Linked DNA regions of Homo sapiens: all the other regions are linked to region 3. The links are contacts of gene promoters, found by promoter capture Hi-C in blood cells and fetal thymus (Javierre and others, 2016). All regions are on one chromosome and are shown on one strand. Each heading gives the region's core, a stretch centred on a gene start or on the middle of the fragment in contact. The rest is flanking DNA. Distances are from core to core; before and after follow the strand shown. Region 1 holds the start of CSRNP2 (cysteine and serine rich nuclear protein 2). Region 2 overlaps CSRNP2 (cysteine and serine rich nuclear protein 2). Region 3 holds the start of CELA1 (chymotrypsin like elastase 1).

What was found. The method cuts DNA at HindIII sites, captures the fragments that hold promoters and counts their contacts. A CHiCAGO score of 5 or more calls a contact.
Region 1: the fragment with the promoter of CSRNP2 here is called in contact with the fragment with the promoter of CELA1 in region 3 in 8 of 17 cell types (endothelial precursors, megakaryocytes, M1 macrophages and 5 more); the score reaches 11.1 in endothelial precursors.
Region 2: a contact is called between a fragment that was not itself captured here and the fragment with the promoter of CELA1 in region 3, in 13 of 17 cell types (megakaryocytes, erythroblasts, naive B cells and 10 more). The highest score is 8.1, in megakaryocytes.

The regions. Positions count from the first base shown.
Region 1 is chr12:51,081,980-51,085,813 of GRCh38, reverse strand. CSRNP2 (cysteine and serine rich nuclear protein 2) reads left to right here and starts at 2,218. Exons shown (of 5, transcript NM_030809.3): 1 at 2,218-2,475. RefSeq lists an enhancer at 1,167-1,793 and a silencer at 2,167-2,656. The HindIII fragment of the contact is 4,493 bases long and covers 1-3,834 here.
Region 2 is chr12:51,064,661-51,068,193 of GRCh38, reverse strand. CSRNP2 (cysteine and serine rich nuclear protein 2) reads left to right here. Exons shown (of 5, transcript NM_030809.3): 4 at 225-521; 5 at 3,525-3,533. It also overlaps a transcript of LETMD1 not described here. Among named protein-coding and RNA genes, the nearest start is that of CSRNP2, 17 kb to the left of the region's middle. The HindIII fragment of the contact is 5,071 bases long and covers 1-3,533 here.
Region 3 is chr12:51,345,394-51,349,183 of GRCh38, reverse strand. It overlaps CELA1 (chymotrypsin like elastase 1), which reads left to right and starts at 2,505. Exons shown (of 8, transcript NM_001971.6): 1 at 2,505-2,561; 2 at 3,307-3,389. The coding sequence starts at 2,546. The HindIII fragment of the contact is 4,543 bases long and covers 911-3,790 here.

The DNA of each region.
Region 1 (3,834 bases), core at 969-3,468, 260 kb after region 3:
TATATTGCCTCTGAATTTCAGCAAAGAGAGATGACAAGTGCATGTTACCAAAAGATTGCTTTTTTCTGATCTACTGCTTTTTTATTTTGCAGTGTAGTGTCCTAGCTTCTTGGAGTCTCTGATGTCACCTAGGGGAGAGAACTGAAATTCTTAGCATGTTTTCCCAAGCCATCCAGCCTCTCACTTCTAAAGCTGAGATGGCTTGGTAGCTAGTGGATCTGGCTTCATAGTTTCTTGGTTGCAGTGAAAAATGTACCAGGTTTTGGAACCAGCCTAACGTGAGTTTAAATCCTGCTGTCCATCCATCTATCCAATAAATATCTATCATACTCTTAAATGTCAACTACTAGGCTTTGTACTGTGTGTTGAGGATACAGTAAACAAAACAATTCCTTGCTCTCACCGAATTTAGTCAAGTGAGACAAGACAAAAACAAATACGTGGATGCTAAGAAGAAATATAAGGCACAGGGATAGAAACTAAGGAGAAGCACCATTTTAGAAATATGGTTAGGCATTTGTGCCCGGGAGTTTGAGGCTGCTGTGAGCCGTGATTGCGCCACTGCACTCCAGCCTGGGTGACAGAGTGAAATCCTGTCTCTTAATGCAGGGAAAAAGAAATATGGTTAGGGAAGATCTCGGATATGGGGACATTCGAGCAGATATTATGTGAGGGAGTAAGTATGTGGCTAGCTGGTGGAAGCCAGACAAAAGGCCCTGAGGTAAGAGAATGATTGCCCAGTTGAAGGAGCTGCAATGAGGCCAGTGTATTCAAGCAGAGTATGGAAGGGGGAAAGTAGAAGCAAACAAGATGACAGAACAAAATGAGGGGGCGGGGTGGGGGTCGGGGGACAAGAGAATGCAGCTCGAGCTTGCCGAGCCTTATAGTTCAAGGGAAAGACAACAAAGAAGAAACCAAGGCTATGTGTCCTTGGCAAATCACATACAACTTTTGACTTCTTAATCTTGGTTTTCCCCTTTTTTTTCTTTTTCTTTTTCTTTTTTTTTTTGAGACGGAGTTTCGCTCTTGTTGACCGTGCTGGAGGGCAATGGTGCAGTCTTGGCTCACTGCAACCTCCGCCTCCCGGGTTCAAGCCATTCTCCTGGGTCGGCCTCCCGAGGAGCTGGGATTAAAGGCACGTGCTACCACCCTCGGCTAATTTTTGTATTTTTAGTAGAGACAGGGTTTCACCATGTTGGTCAGGCTGGTCTCGAACTCCTGACCTCATGACCCGCCCGCCTCGGCCTCCCAAAGTGCTGGGATTACAGGCATGAGCCACCGCGCCTGGCGCCCTTTCTTAAAAATAGGTTGCGGAAGGGCGCGGTGGCTCATGCGTATAATCCCAGCACTTTGGGAGGCCGAGGCGGGCGGATCGCCTGGGCCCAGGAGTGCAAGACCAGCCGGGGCAACATGGCGAAAACCCCTTTTCTATTTAAATAAATAAATTAGTTTGCAAAGTTGAGAAGATTTTTTTTTTTTTTTTTTTGAGACGGAGTCTCGCTCTTTCGCCCAGTCTGCAGTGCAGTGGCGCGATCTCGGCTCACTGCAAGCTCCGCCTCCCGGGTTCACGCCATTCTCCTGCCTCAGCCTCCCGAGTAGCTGGGACTACAGGCGCCCGCCACCACGCCCGGCTAATTTTTGTATTTTTTAGTAGAGACGGGGTTTCACCTTGTTAGCCAGGTTGGTCTCGATCTCCTGACCTCGTGATCCGCCCACCTCGGCCTCCCAAAGTGCTGGGATTACAGGCGTGAGCCACCGCGCCCGGCAGCAATTTTTTTTTTTTTAAAGAAAACACTCAAAGCACTCCCTCATATAAGTAGATAACTCAAGATATTGCTTGTATTCTTTATAACCTGCGCAGGCTGCAATAAGTCATATTGCTGAAGACTAAGACCCCATGAGCGAGGAGAAGGGGGGATCATGTTCCTAATGGCGTGTGGTCAGGACACGAAAGAAAAAGGGAGCTTTGGAGGAGAATTCGTTTATTTAAGATCTGTAGCTGAGTCTCCTCTCTTCCCCCATTAAAAGGTTGCAGCAGAGCTGCCGCCTCGGGAGCCGGTTTGCGCGCCGGCTTCGGCTTTGCAGCAGTTACCGCCTACAACTCCCGGCATGCTGCTGGGTGTGGGCCGGCCCGTAGACTCCATTTCCCAGCCAGCCCCGGGTCTCGGTCAGGACGTGCCGGCGCCTATAAGAGCCAGTGCGCTGCGGCCGGATCCTATTGTTAGCCGGAGCCGGGGCGGTTCTGGGCGTCTGCTGCCGGGGGCGCCCGAGTTGCCGGAGACGCCCGGCCCTCTCTGCCTGCCGGCTGGGCTGCCCACCGCCCTCCCTCCCCGCCCTGCCGCCCTGGGAGCTCCCCGGCCGTCGCCGCGGGGCCCGGGACTCGCTCGCTCCTCCCTCCTTCCCACCGGGCTAGGGCGGCGGCGGCAGCGGGGGCGGCAGAGACCATCACGGGAGGAGGCAGCTGCGGCGGGGCCGGTAATGGGCCTAGGGGTGCGGGGCGGAGGGTGCCGCCTCGTCCTTTCTCGGGATCGGCCCTCGGGCGGCCGTGGAGGAGTGGTCAAGCCCAGAGCCGTGCGGATGGAGGGGTCAGAAATGAGAGGCTCGGACGGGAGCGGTCGGGGGGCGGGGAGGTCGGGTGCCGTTGGGAAGGAACCGAGTCGGGAAGAGGCGTGGGAGCGAGGGGCACCGAGGACGCTGGCCCGGACTGCGGGGGCAGCTCGCGGGAGACCGATGGGCGGCTTGGAAGCCTGCAGGATTGCAGATGAGGATTGAGTTCGGAATGGAGTGGAGAATGATGTAGGATGGAGGAAAGTGAAGGAAGGGGAGGGGGAACAGAGGAAAATGTGGGAGGAGTGGTTGGGAATTTGTGAGTAGCAGGCAGGAAGGGATGCGGAAGGCTGGGTAGGGGCTGCAGAGGATTGGAATGAGCGGGAAGGTTAGCAGGAATCAGAGGGAAGTGGGCCGAGAGCTGAAGGGTTCGGCAGGAGTGTTCATTAAAAGGAACTGGTGACTTGACATGTCCCTTCGCTCCGGTTCCTGATGTCTCCCATATTTCTGGCGTCGTGTGGGAAAATGAAAGCATCAATTGCCCTGGTTGCTAGCTTGATCTTTTTTCATAGGCCCAATTACGCAGCCAACTGCCACCCGTCCCTTTTAGTGCTGTGGTCTTGATTCATCCTTTTAAAGGGGTTGAGAGTGGCAGTGTGACACACAAACTGTTCTTCAGAATGAAATGCTAGAAGTTATCCCCACAAGACAACACTGTCCCCTTGTCCTGCAGTTTTCAGTTCAAGGTAAATTCATAGTTCAGATTTTTTTCTTCACTGGCTTTCTGTCTTGCAAATCCACAAAGCCAGGATGTTGGTTGTGCCGGTGTTATAAATGACTGGATATCCTTGAGAGTTAATGCAGCATCATGTTCCAGTTCCCACAAAGATCTGTCTTCCACACGATGGTAGTTTAGGCATGGAAAATTCTAACCTTGTGTTAGTGAATGGGTAAAAATCGGGGAGTGGGGGTGGTGAGTGCACGGCTTTCTTTAAACACCTAACTTAAGCGGGGGGTTTTCACTTGGGTGCTTTGTAAGTTCATGATCCTGGTGATCACAAAGACACATGGATCCATGAAATTCATGGTATATGAGAAACAACCACAGTATCTTGTAAAAGGAGAAACAGGGCAGGTCATTTTATTCAGGTTTATGGTAACACAGCAGCAAGCCTTCCTTCCAACCCAGCTACAGATGGTAGCCCTGACCATCTTACTGGAGGTTTTGATTCCTTGACCTTTAGCAGAAGGTTGGGTTCCAGTCAAGTGAAGAGGCTTTCTCCTGTG
Region 2 (3,533 bases), core at 913-3,412, 280 kb after region 3:
AGAATGAGACTTTTGTCTCAAAAAAATAAATAAAATGACAGTTTTCCAATTGCTGCATTTCTAGTGCTCAGTAGCCACATGTGCTAGTAGCTGCCATCATTTTGGACAGCACAGATATTCCCATGATTGCAGAAGGTTCAAGGGACAGTGCTGCTCTGGGATGGTCACTGAGGAGGTGCATGCCGCTCATGTCTATGAGGCTAACCTTTCCTGTCTCTTGGCAGCTGACCAAGAATGGGACAGTGGAGTCGGTGGAGGCTGATGGCCTGACGCTGGATGATGTGTCAGATGAAGATATTGATGTGGAAAATGTGGAGGTGGATGATTACTTCTTCCTGCAGCCTCTGCCCACCAAACGGCGACGGGCCCTGCTGAGGGCTTCTGGGGTCCACCGTATTGATGCTGAAGAGAAGCAAGAACTTCGAGCCATCCGCCTGTCACGGGAAGAATGTGGTTGTGACTGCCGACTGTATTGTGACCCAGAAGCGTGTGCCTGCAGCCAGGCTGGGATTAAATGCCAGGTCAGTCCAAGTTGGCCTGAGATAGTATATCTACACCAGGGTCAGCGGGGTGAGGTGTGGGTGCCACTGAACATGGGAGGCCCATTCAGGGGTGGATTCCCTATGGTTGTGAACACTCTCCAGTTCCACAACCCTCCTCCGTCAACAGAGTAAGCAAACAGCACACGGCCAGGCATGGTGGCTCACACCTCTAATCCTAGCTATGTGGGAGGCTGAGGTAGGAGGATCTCTTGAGTCCAGGAGGTCAAGGCTGCAGTGAGCTGAGTTCACACCAGTGCACGCCAGCCTGGGTCACAGAGTGAGACCCTGTCTCTTAAAATTTTTGCAAAGAAAACAAGCATGACAGGATTCTTAGGCTGTGGAGGTATCTCATCTTTTTTTGTTTCATTTCTCAGAGGTGATAAGAAGCAGCTGTTAGGAAAGGGATGAAGAGGAGTTAGTACATTTAACATTTAGTAAATGTTTCCTAAATACTGATTCCTAAACAGTATTTCCTAAATACTGTTTCCTAAATACTGATTCCTTGAGATAAAAGGAAGCAGGACTGGGCATGGTGGCTCACATCTGTAATCCCAGCACTTTGGGAGGCCGAGGCAGGCAGGCAGATTGCTTCCCAGGAGTTCGAGACCAGCCTGGGCAACATGGCTAAGCCCCATCTTTACAAAAAATACAAAAATTAGCTGGACATGGTAGCATGGGCCTGTAGTCCCAGGTACTCAAGAGGCTGAGATGGGAGGAGGATCACTTGAGCCTGGGAGGCATAGGTTGCAGTAAGCTATGATTGTGCCACTGCACTCCAGCCCGGGCGACAGAGCAAGACCCTGTCTCAAAAAGTTAGCAGAGGAATGGTGTGGGCCTGTAGATTCTATCTGCAAACACTTATTGTTCAGTACCTCTACTCCAATTTTGAAAAAATCAAAATAGTATTCAGAGCTTTATAATTCAGGATCAGACCTGGCCTAGCAGAGCTTAAAACCATAGTTATCTGAAAGAGAAAGTATCATCTCTTGTTGGCTGCCCTTTTTTTTTTTTGAGACGGAGTCTCGTTCTGTCGCCCAGGCTGGAGTGCAGTGGCGCGATCTTGGCTCACTGCTACCTCCACCTCCTGGGTTCAAGTGATTCTCCCGCCTCAGCCTCCCAAGTAGCTGGGATTACAGGTGTGCACCACTATGCCCGGCTAATTGTTGTATTGTTGTAATTCTTTTTTTTTTTTTTTTTTGAGACGGAGTCTTGCTCTGTTGCCAGGCTGGAGTGCCGTAGCGCGTGATCTCGGCTCGCTGCAACCTCTGCCTCCCGGGTTCAAGCAATTCTCCTGCCTCAGCCTCCCGAGTAGCTGGGACTATAGGCACACACCACCACACCCAGCTAATTTTTGTATTTTTAGTAGAGACGGCGTTTCACCATGTAGGCCAGGATGGTCTCGATCTCTTGACCTCGTGATCCGCCTGCCTCAGCCTCCCAAAGTGCTGGGATTACAGGCGTGAGCCACCGCACCTGGCCAGCTTTTGTATTTTTAGTAGAGACAGGGTTTCATCATGTTGGCCGGGCAGGTCTCAAACGCCTGACCTCAGGTGATCTGCCTGCCTCAGCCTCCCGAAGTACTGGGATTACAGGCATGAGCCACCGTGCCTGGCCCCTTGTTGGCCCTCTGATGGGGGACAGTTTAAGACACATTTCAGTTGAAAACAGCAATACCATCCCTAAGAATGAAATTTATCTGGAACTTAATTATTGAGGGTGTAGATGCTGAGTCCTTGTGGTTGGATTTCTCCTAACTCACTCTTTCTTTATTTTTAGCTGGGTAACAAATAACTGTGGTATATCTGGCCAAATACTGCTTTTCAGACCAAAGTCCCATAATGAGTCATTCTGTTACACACACACCTGAGAACAGTCCTAAGAATTGATGCAGCTGGGCCTGGCATGTTGGCTCACACCTGTAACTAGCACTTTGGGAGGCTGGGGTGGAAGGACTGCTTGAGCCCAGGAGTTTGAGGCCAGCCTGGGCAACATAGCGAGACCCCATCTCTACAAAAAATTTTAAAATTAGGGCCGGGCGCGGTGGCTCACACCTGTAATCCCAGCATGGCTCCAGGCTGCAGTGAGCCATGATGGCACCACTGCACTCCAGCCTGGACGACAGAGCAAGACCCTATCTCCAAAGGAAAAAAAAATGGTATAACTGGAGTGGAGATTTCTATAAGTCAGTATCATAGAAAGACATTGTGATTTGTACATGCTTATTTGCTTACTTGTGGTTTTAATTTTTCCTTTTATTTTTGGTTTATGTGTTTTTCCTGTTGGAATATGAAAGTGATAAGGAGGTAGAAAGCATCTCCTTTCCAGATATTCCTGGTCTGTAAGTTAATTATCTTGGTAACTGCTTCAGAACTAAACTAGTCAACCCTCAGGGAAAATAAAGCAGGTAGCTAAAAAATTGGCCACTGTGTGAACCTGCGTTCTAGCACCTTAGCAAACTAAGGCACATTTGCTTAGTTTCCCCAGAATGTATTTTTTTTGAAGTAGCAAGATCTTCCACTCACTCTCCCATGCCTGTCATTGCAGGCCATAGGCTTGGTTCCAGCCTTTTGTTGTCTCAGTGAACCAGGTAAGTTCTGAAAAAGTCTCTGAGGCTCGTAAATTTCCTCTGTGAAAACTATCAGCATTCAGAGAAGTATCTCTGGACTCTTAACTGGAAGGACCCTGTGCTGTGATTTTGTCTACTTGTTATTTAGAAGAGGAAACAAAGCCCTAGAGAGATAAATGATTCTCTTGAGGTCACACCACTAATTAATGGCTGAGCTGGGATTGAAATGCAAGTGGTCTGATAACTACCATCTAGTGTTCTGTTAGCTCACACTGCATGCTATGCTTTGAATTGGTTGCTTTTCTTCTTACAAGGAGACCTCAAATCCCAACTGCCTGTTTGCCAGCTCATGTCTCCTGTCTCCATTGTTAGGATTGTAGGTCTCATCTTGCCCCAACCTTCTTGTCCCCGCTCAGGTGGATCGC
Region 3 (3,790 bases), core at 1,256-3,755:
CTGGGCGGGTGGCTCATGCCTGCAATCCCAGTACTTGGGGAGGCTGAGGTGGGTGAATCACTTGAGCTCAGGAGTTTGAGACTAGCTTGGGCAACATGGTGAAACCTCGTCTCTACAAAAAATACAAAAATTAGCTGGGCATGGTGGCTGGCACCTGTAGTCCCAGCTACTTGAGGGGCTGAGGTGGGAGGATCGCTTGAGCCCAGAAGATGGAGGTTGCAGTGAGTTGAGATCATGCCACTGCACTCTAGCATGGGCAACAGAATGAGACCCTGTCTTAAAAAAAGAAAAAATTTAAGCCATTGTCTATGCCTAACCCTAAGAGTAAGATTTTTTTTTTTTTTTTTTTGAGATGGAGTCTTGCTCTGTTGCCCAGGCTGGAGTGCAGTGGCACAATCTCGGCTCACTGCAACCTCCACCTCCAGGGTTCAAGCAACTCTCCCTGCCACAGCTTCCCAAGGAGCTGGGATTACAGCTCCCAAGCACAGGGACTACACCACAACGCCTGGCTAATTTTTGTATTTTCAGTAGAGACGGGATTTCACCATGTTGGCCAGGCTGGTCTGGAACTCCTGACCTCAGGTGATCTGGCCCTGCTGTGATGTAAAGAGGTAACCTTCAGGAGGCCCTCAAGCCTCCTCTTGGACTCCTCATCCTGGGGCTAGAGGCCAGAGGAAGCAGGGAAGCGGGAGGAGAATGACCAAAGAGGCCCCGGGTTCCCTAGCGCAGCTCACCCCTCTTCCCTGAGTGTGCCAGAATGCTGGAGGGCAGGCTGGAGAGCAAGCTCTTCAGGTTATCTGAGCATCAAAGTGCAACTCCTCTGAACAGCTCTAGACACTGAAAAAGTGACTGTGCAGATTCCTTCAAAGAGCATTTTCCAGGTTTCTCCCACCCCTGCAGCCATGAAGCTTGGATTCTGGAGTGTTTAGGCAACAAAAGCCCTGGGTGGGCAGGTGATGGTCCTGCTTCTGTCTAGGTTCCTGGCTTCTCCCTGCCTAATTCCAAACCCCATGCGTTGCTACCATGACTGCTGCACCCACAGTCCTCTGCTCTGGAGCCTGCAGTGGCTCTGATCATTTTGTGGCCAACCCAAGGGTCCTCTGCCCACCTCAAGGCACATTGCAACTCTTTTCTCTCTCTATTTATTTATTTATTTATTTATTTATTTATTTATTTATTTATTTATTTTGAGACAGAGTCTTGCTCTGTCTCCAGGCTGGAGTGCAGCAACCTCCGCTTCCCAGGTTGAAGCGATTCTCCTGCCTCAGCCTCCAGATTAGCTGGGACTGCAGAAGCGCACCACCATGCCCAGCTAATTTTTGTATTTTGTTTTTGTTTTTTTTTAGATGGAGTCTCGCTCTGTCGCCCAGGTTGGAGTGCAGTGGCGCGATCTCGGCTCACTGCAAGCTCCGCCTCCCGGGCTCACGCCATTCTCCTGCCTGCGCCTCCCGAGGAGCTGGGACTACAGGCGCCTGCCACCACGCCCAGCTAATTTTTTGTATTTTTTTAGTAGAGACGGGGTTTCACTGTGTTAGCCAGAGTAGTCTCAATCTCCTGACCTCGTGATCCGCCCGCCTCCGACTCCCAAAGTGCTGGGATTACAGGCATGAGCCACCGCGCCCGGCCAATTTTTGTATTTTTAGTAGACGGGGTTTCGCCATGTTGGCCAGGATGGTCTCGATCTCTTGATCTTGTGATCCGCCCGCCTCAGCCTCCCAAAGTGCTGGGATTACAGGCGTAAACCACCGCGCCCGGCCGCAACTCCCTTCTCTCTCCTCTACGAACTGTGATGAACAAAGCCTTTCATCTCCTGCAGGAACCTCGGCTCCTACCCTCGTTCTCCCTCTGCCCTCCACCCTCCATCTACCCTCATAGCCCTCAGACTGTCTTCACATCCCAAGGATCCCCTCCTCTACCCTGCCTCATATTCTCCTCTGGGAGCCCCTTCTTGGCTCTCCATCTGAGAGGGCCCAAGCCTGTTTCTCAGTACTTTCCTCCCCCAGAATTATCTCCACTGCATCTATTTGGCTTTTGTGTCTGCATTTACACCTATGCCTGCATCCTGGGGGCATGTGCCATCTCCCTCTTTGGGCAGAGAGAGTTGCTGTGTCTTCCTTGCCCTTGCTAACCACTCCCCCCTCTTCCACTATCCCCCTGGCCTCCAGCTGCTAGTGCACAGGGCAAGTCTCTGCATTTATGGTGCCACTGAGGACAACGAGAGAGTGATGGATGACAAGGGGTGCTCCCTTAGAGAAAAACCAGCCCTGGTTCTCCATCTTATTTCTGAAAAAGAGTTTGTTGGATGCTTTTCAATTAAAAGCAGATGATTAATTCAGCCCTGGCCTTGTTCTGTCTTTGAATAACAGATACATTAGTTTACTTGAAAAGAAATATTTTCATTTGTATTTCCATGTCACTTGTGATTTTCCCTGCCTTGCACCCTCAGCCCTGCCAGTTGGCAAGAAGACAGTCAGCTTTGCTGCTAAGAGGAGTATAAAGAGGGCTTGGTCCAAGCAAGAAGGCAGTGGTCTACTCCATCGGCAACATGCTGGTCCTTTATGGTAAGTGGATATGGTCCAGTCGCAACCCTGGTCCTTTATGGTAAGTGGATCATGTGGCCTGAGGTCTATAGGGAGGGGGACTTGGGCAGGAAGGTCAGCAAATTTTCCCTAAGTCCAGGCCAGCACCCTGTCCCAGGGCAGGTGGGACGCTCTGCCTGCAGAGCGTCCTTTACTCTCCTGGAGGCCAAGATAGAAAAGGTCAGGGCCACTGGCTATTCAGGCCCCTCTGGGTGGCAGGTCCCTGGGCCACAAAGCAGAGAGAAGCCCCATCTGGTAGTGGGGTGGGTCCCTGGGCTTCCCCACCACCCCCATTGACAGGAGGACTTCCTCAGCAGGTGCCTGGCTGGGGTGTGCACTGCAGGCCCTGAACCCTGGAGAATCTTGCCAAAGCATTAGGGGGCTGGTGGGGGTCAAAGAGTGGGGGGGGGTCTCTTCAGGCCAAAGGGTGATCTTGAGCAAAGAGGAGACCACAAGGAGCCTCTGGGGCCTAGCCTGGTGGTTTGAGAGAGGTCCTTCATAGCATGCCGGAGTTCTGGGAACACCTGGGGGAAACAGAAGGCACCCAGGCACCCCTGTTTTCAAAAGGGGCTCAGAGAACTCACAGCTGGGCCCCTCATTCGTTAGAGAGGAACTGTGAATTTGCAGACAAGGCTAACATTCCTCAAAGCACAATCGCCACCCCCCACCCCTACCCCTGGCTGACCCCATGCTTAGTCATCACTCACTTTTCTTCTGCCCCACAAAGGACACAGCACCCAGGACCTTCCGGAAACCAATGCCCGCGTAGTCGGAGGGACTGAGGCCGGGAGGAATTCCTGGCCCTCTCAGGTGGGTGTTCCTTCCCAGCCCCAGACTTCCACCCAAATAAGAGCTCAGTGCATGACATAAGGTATCATGTGTATTTGTGCATGTCCCTATCAACAAGCAGCTCTCCAATTGTCTAGGTTCTCGATTTTAAAGATGGATGGGATCAGGCTTAGGTGGTTTTCTAAATGCAAAAGGCTTGGAGGAGGGGATTTATACACCAACCACAGTCCCTCTTCAAGGCACACACCCAAACACAAGATACATTTATATTCTCAGCGACAGCACTTGTGCCACGCAAGAAAGACTGGGTGCCAGACAGTCACCTTGGACTCCACATACCTTGAAACTCACACGCACACCACTCCACACTGTGTGTGTCACAATGCTTGCACGCATGTGCGCGCACACACACACACACACAC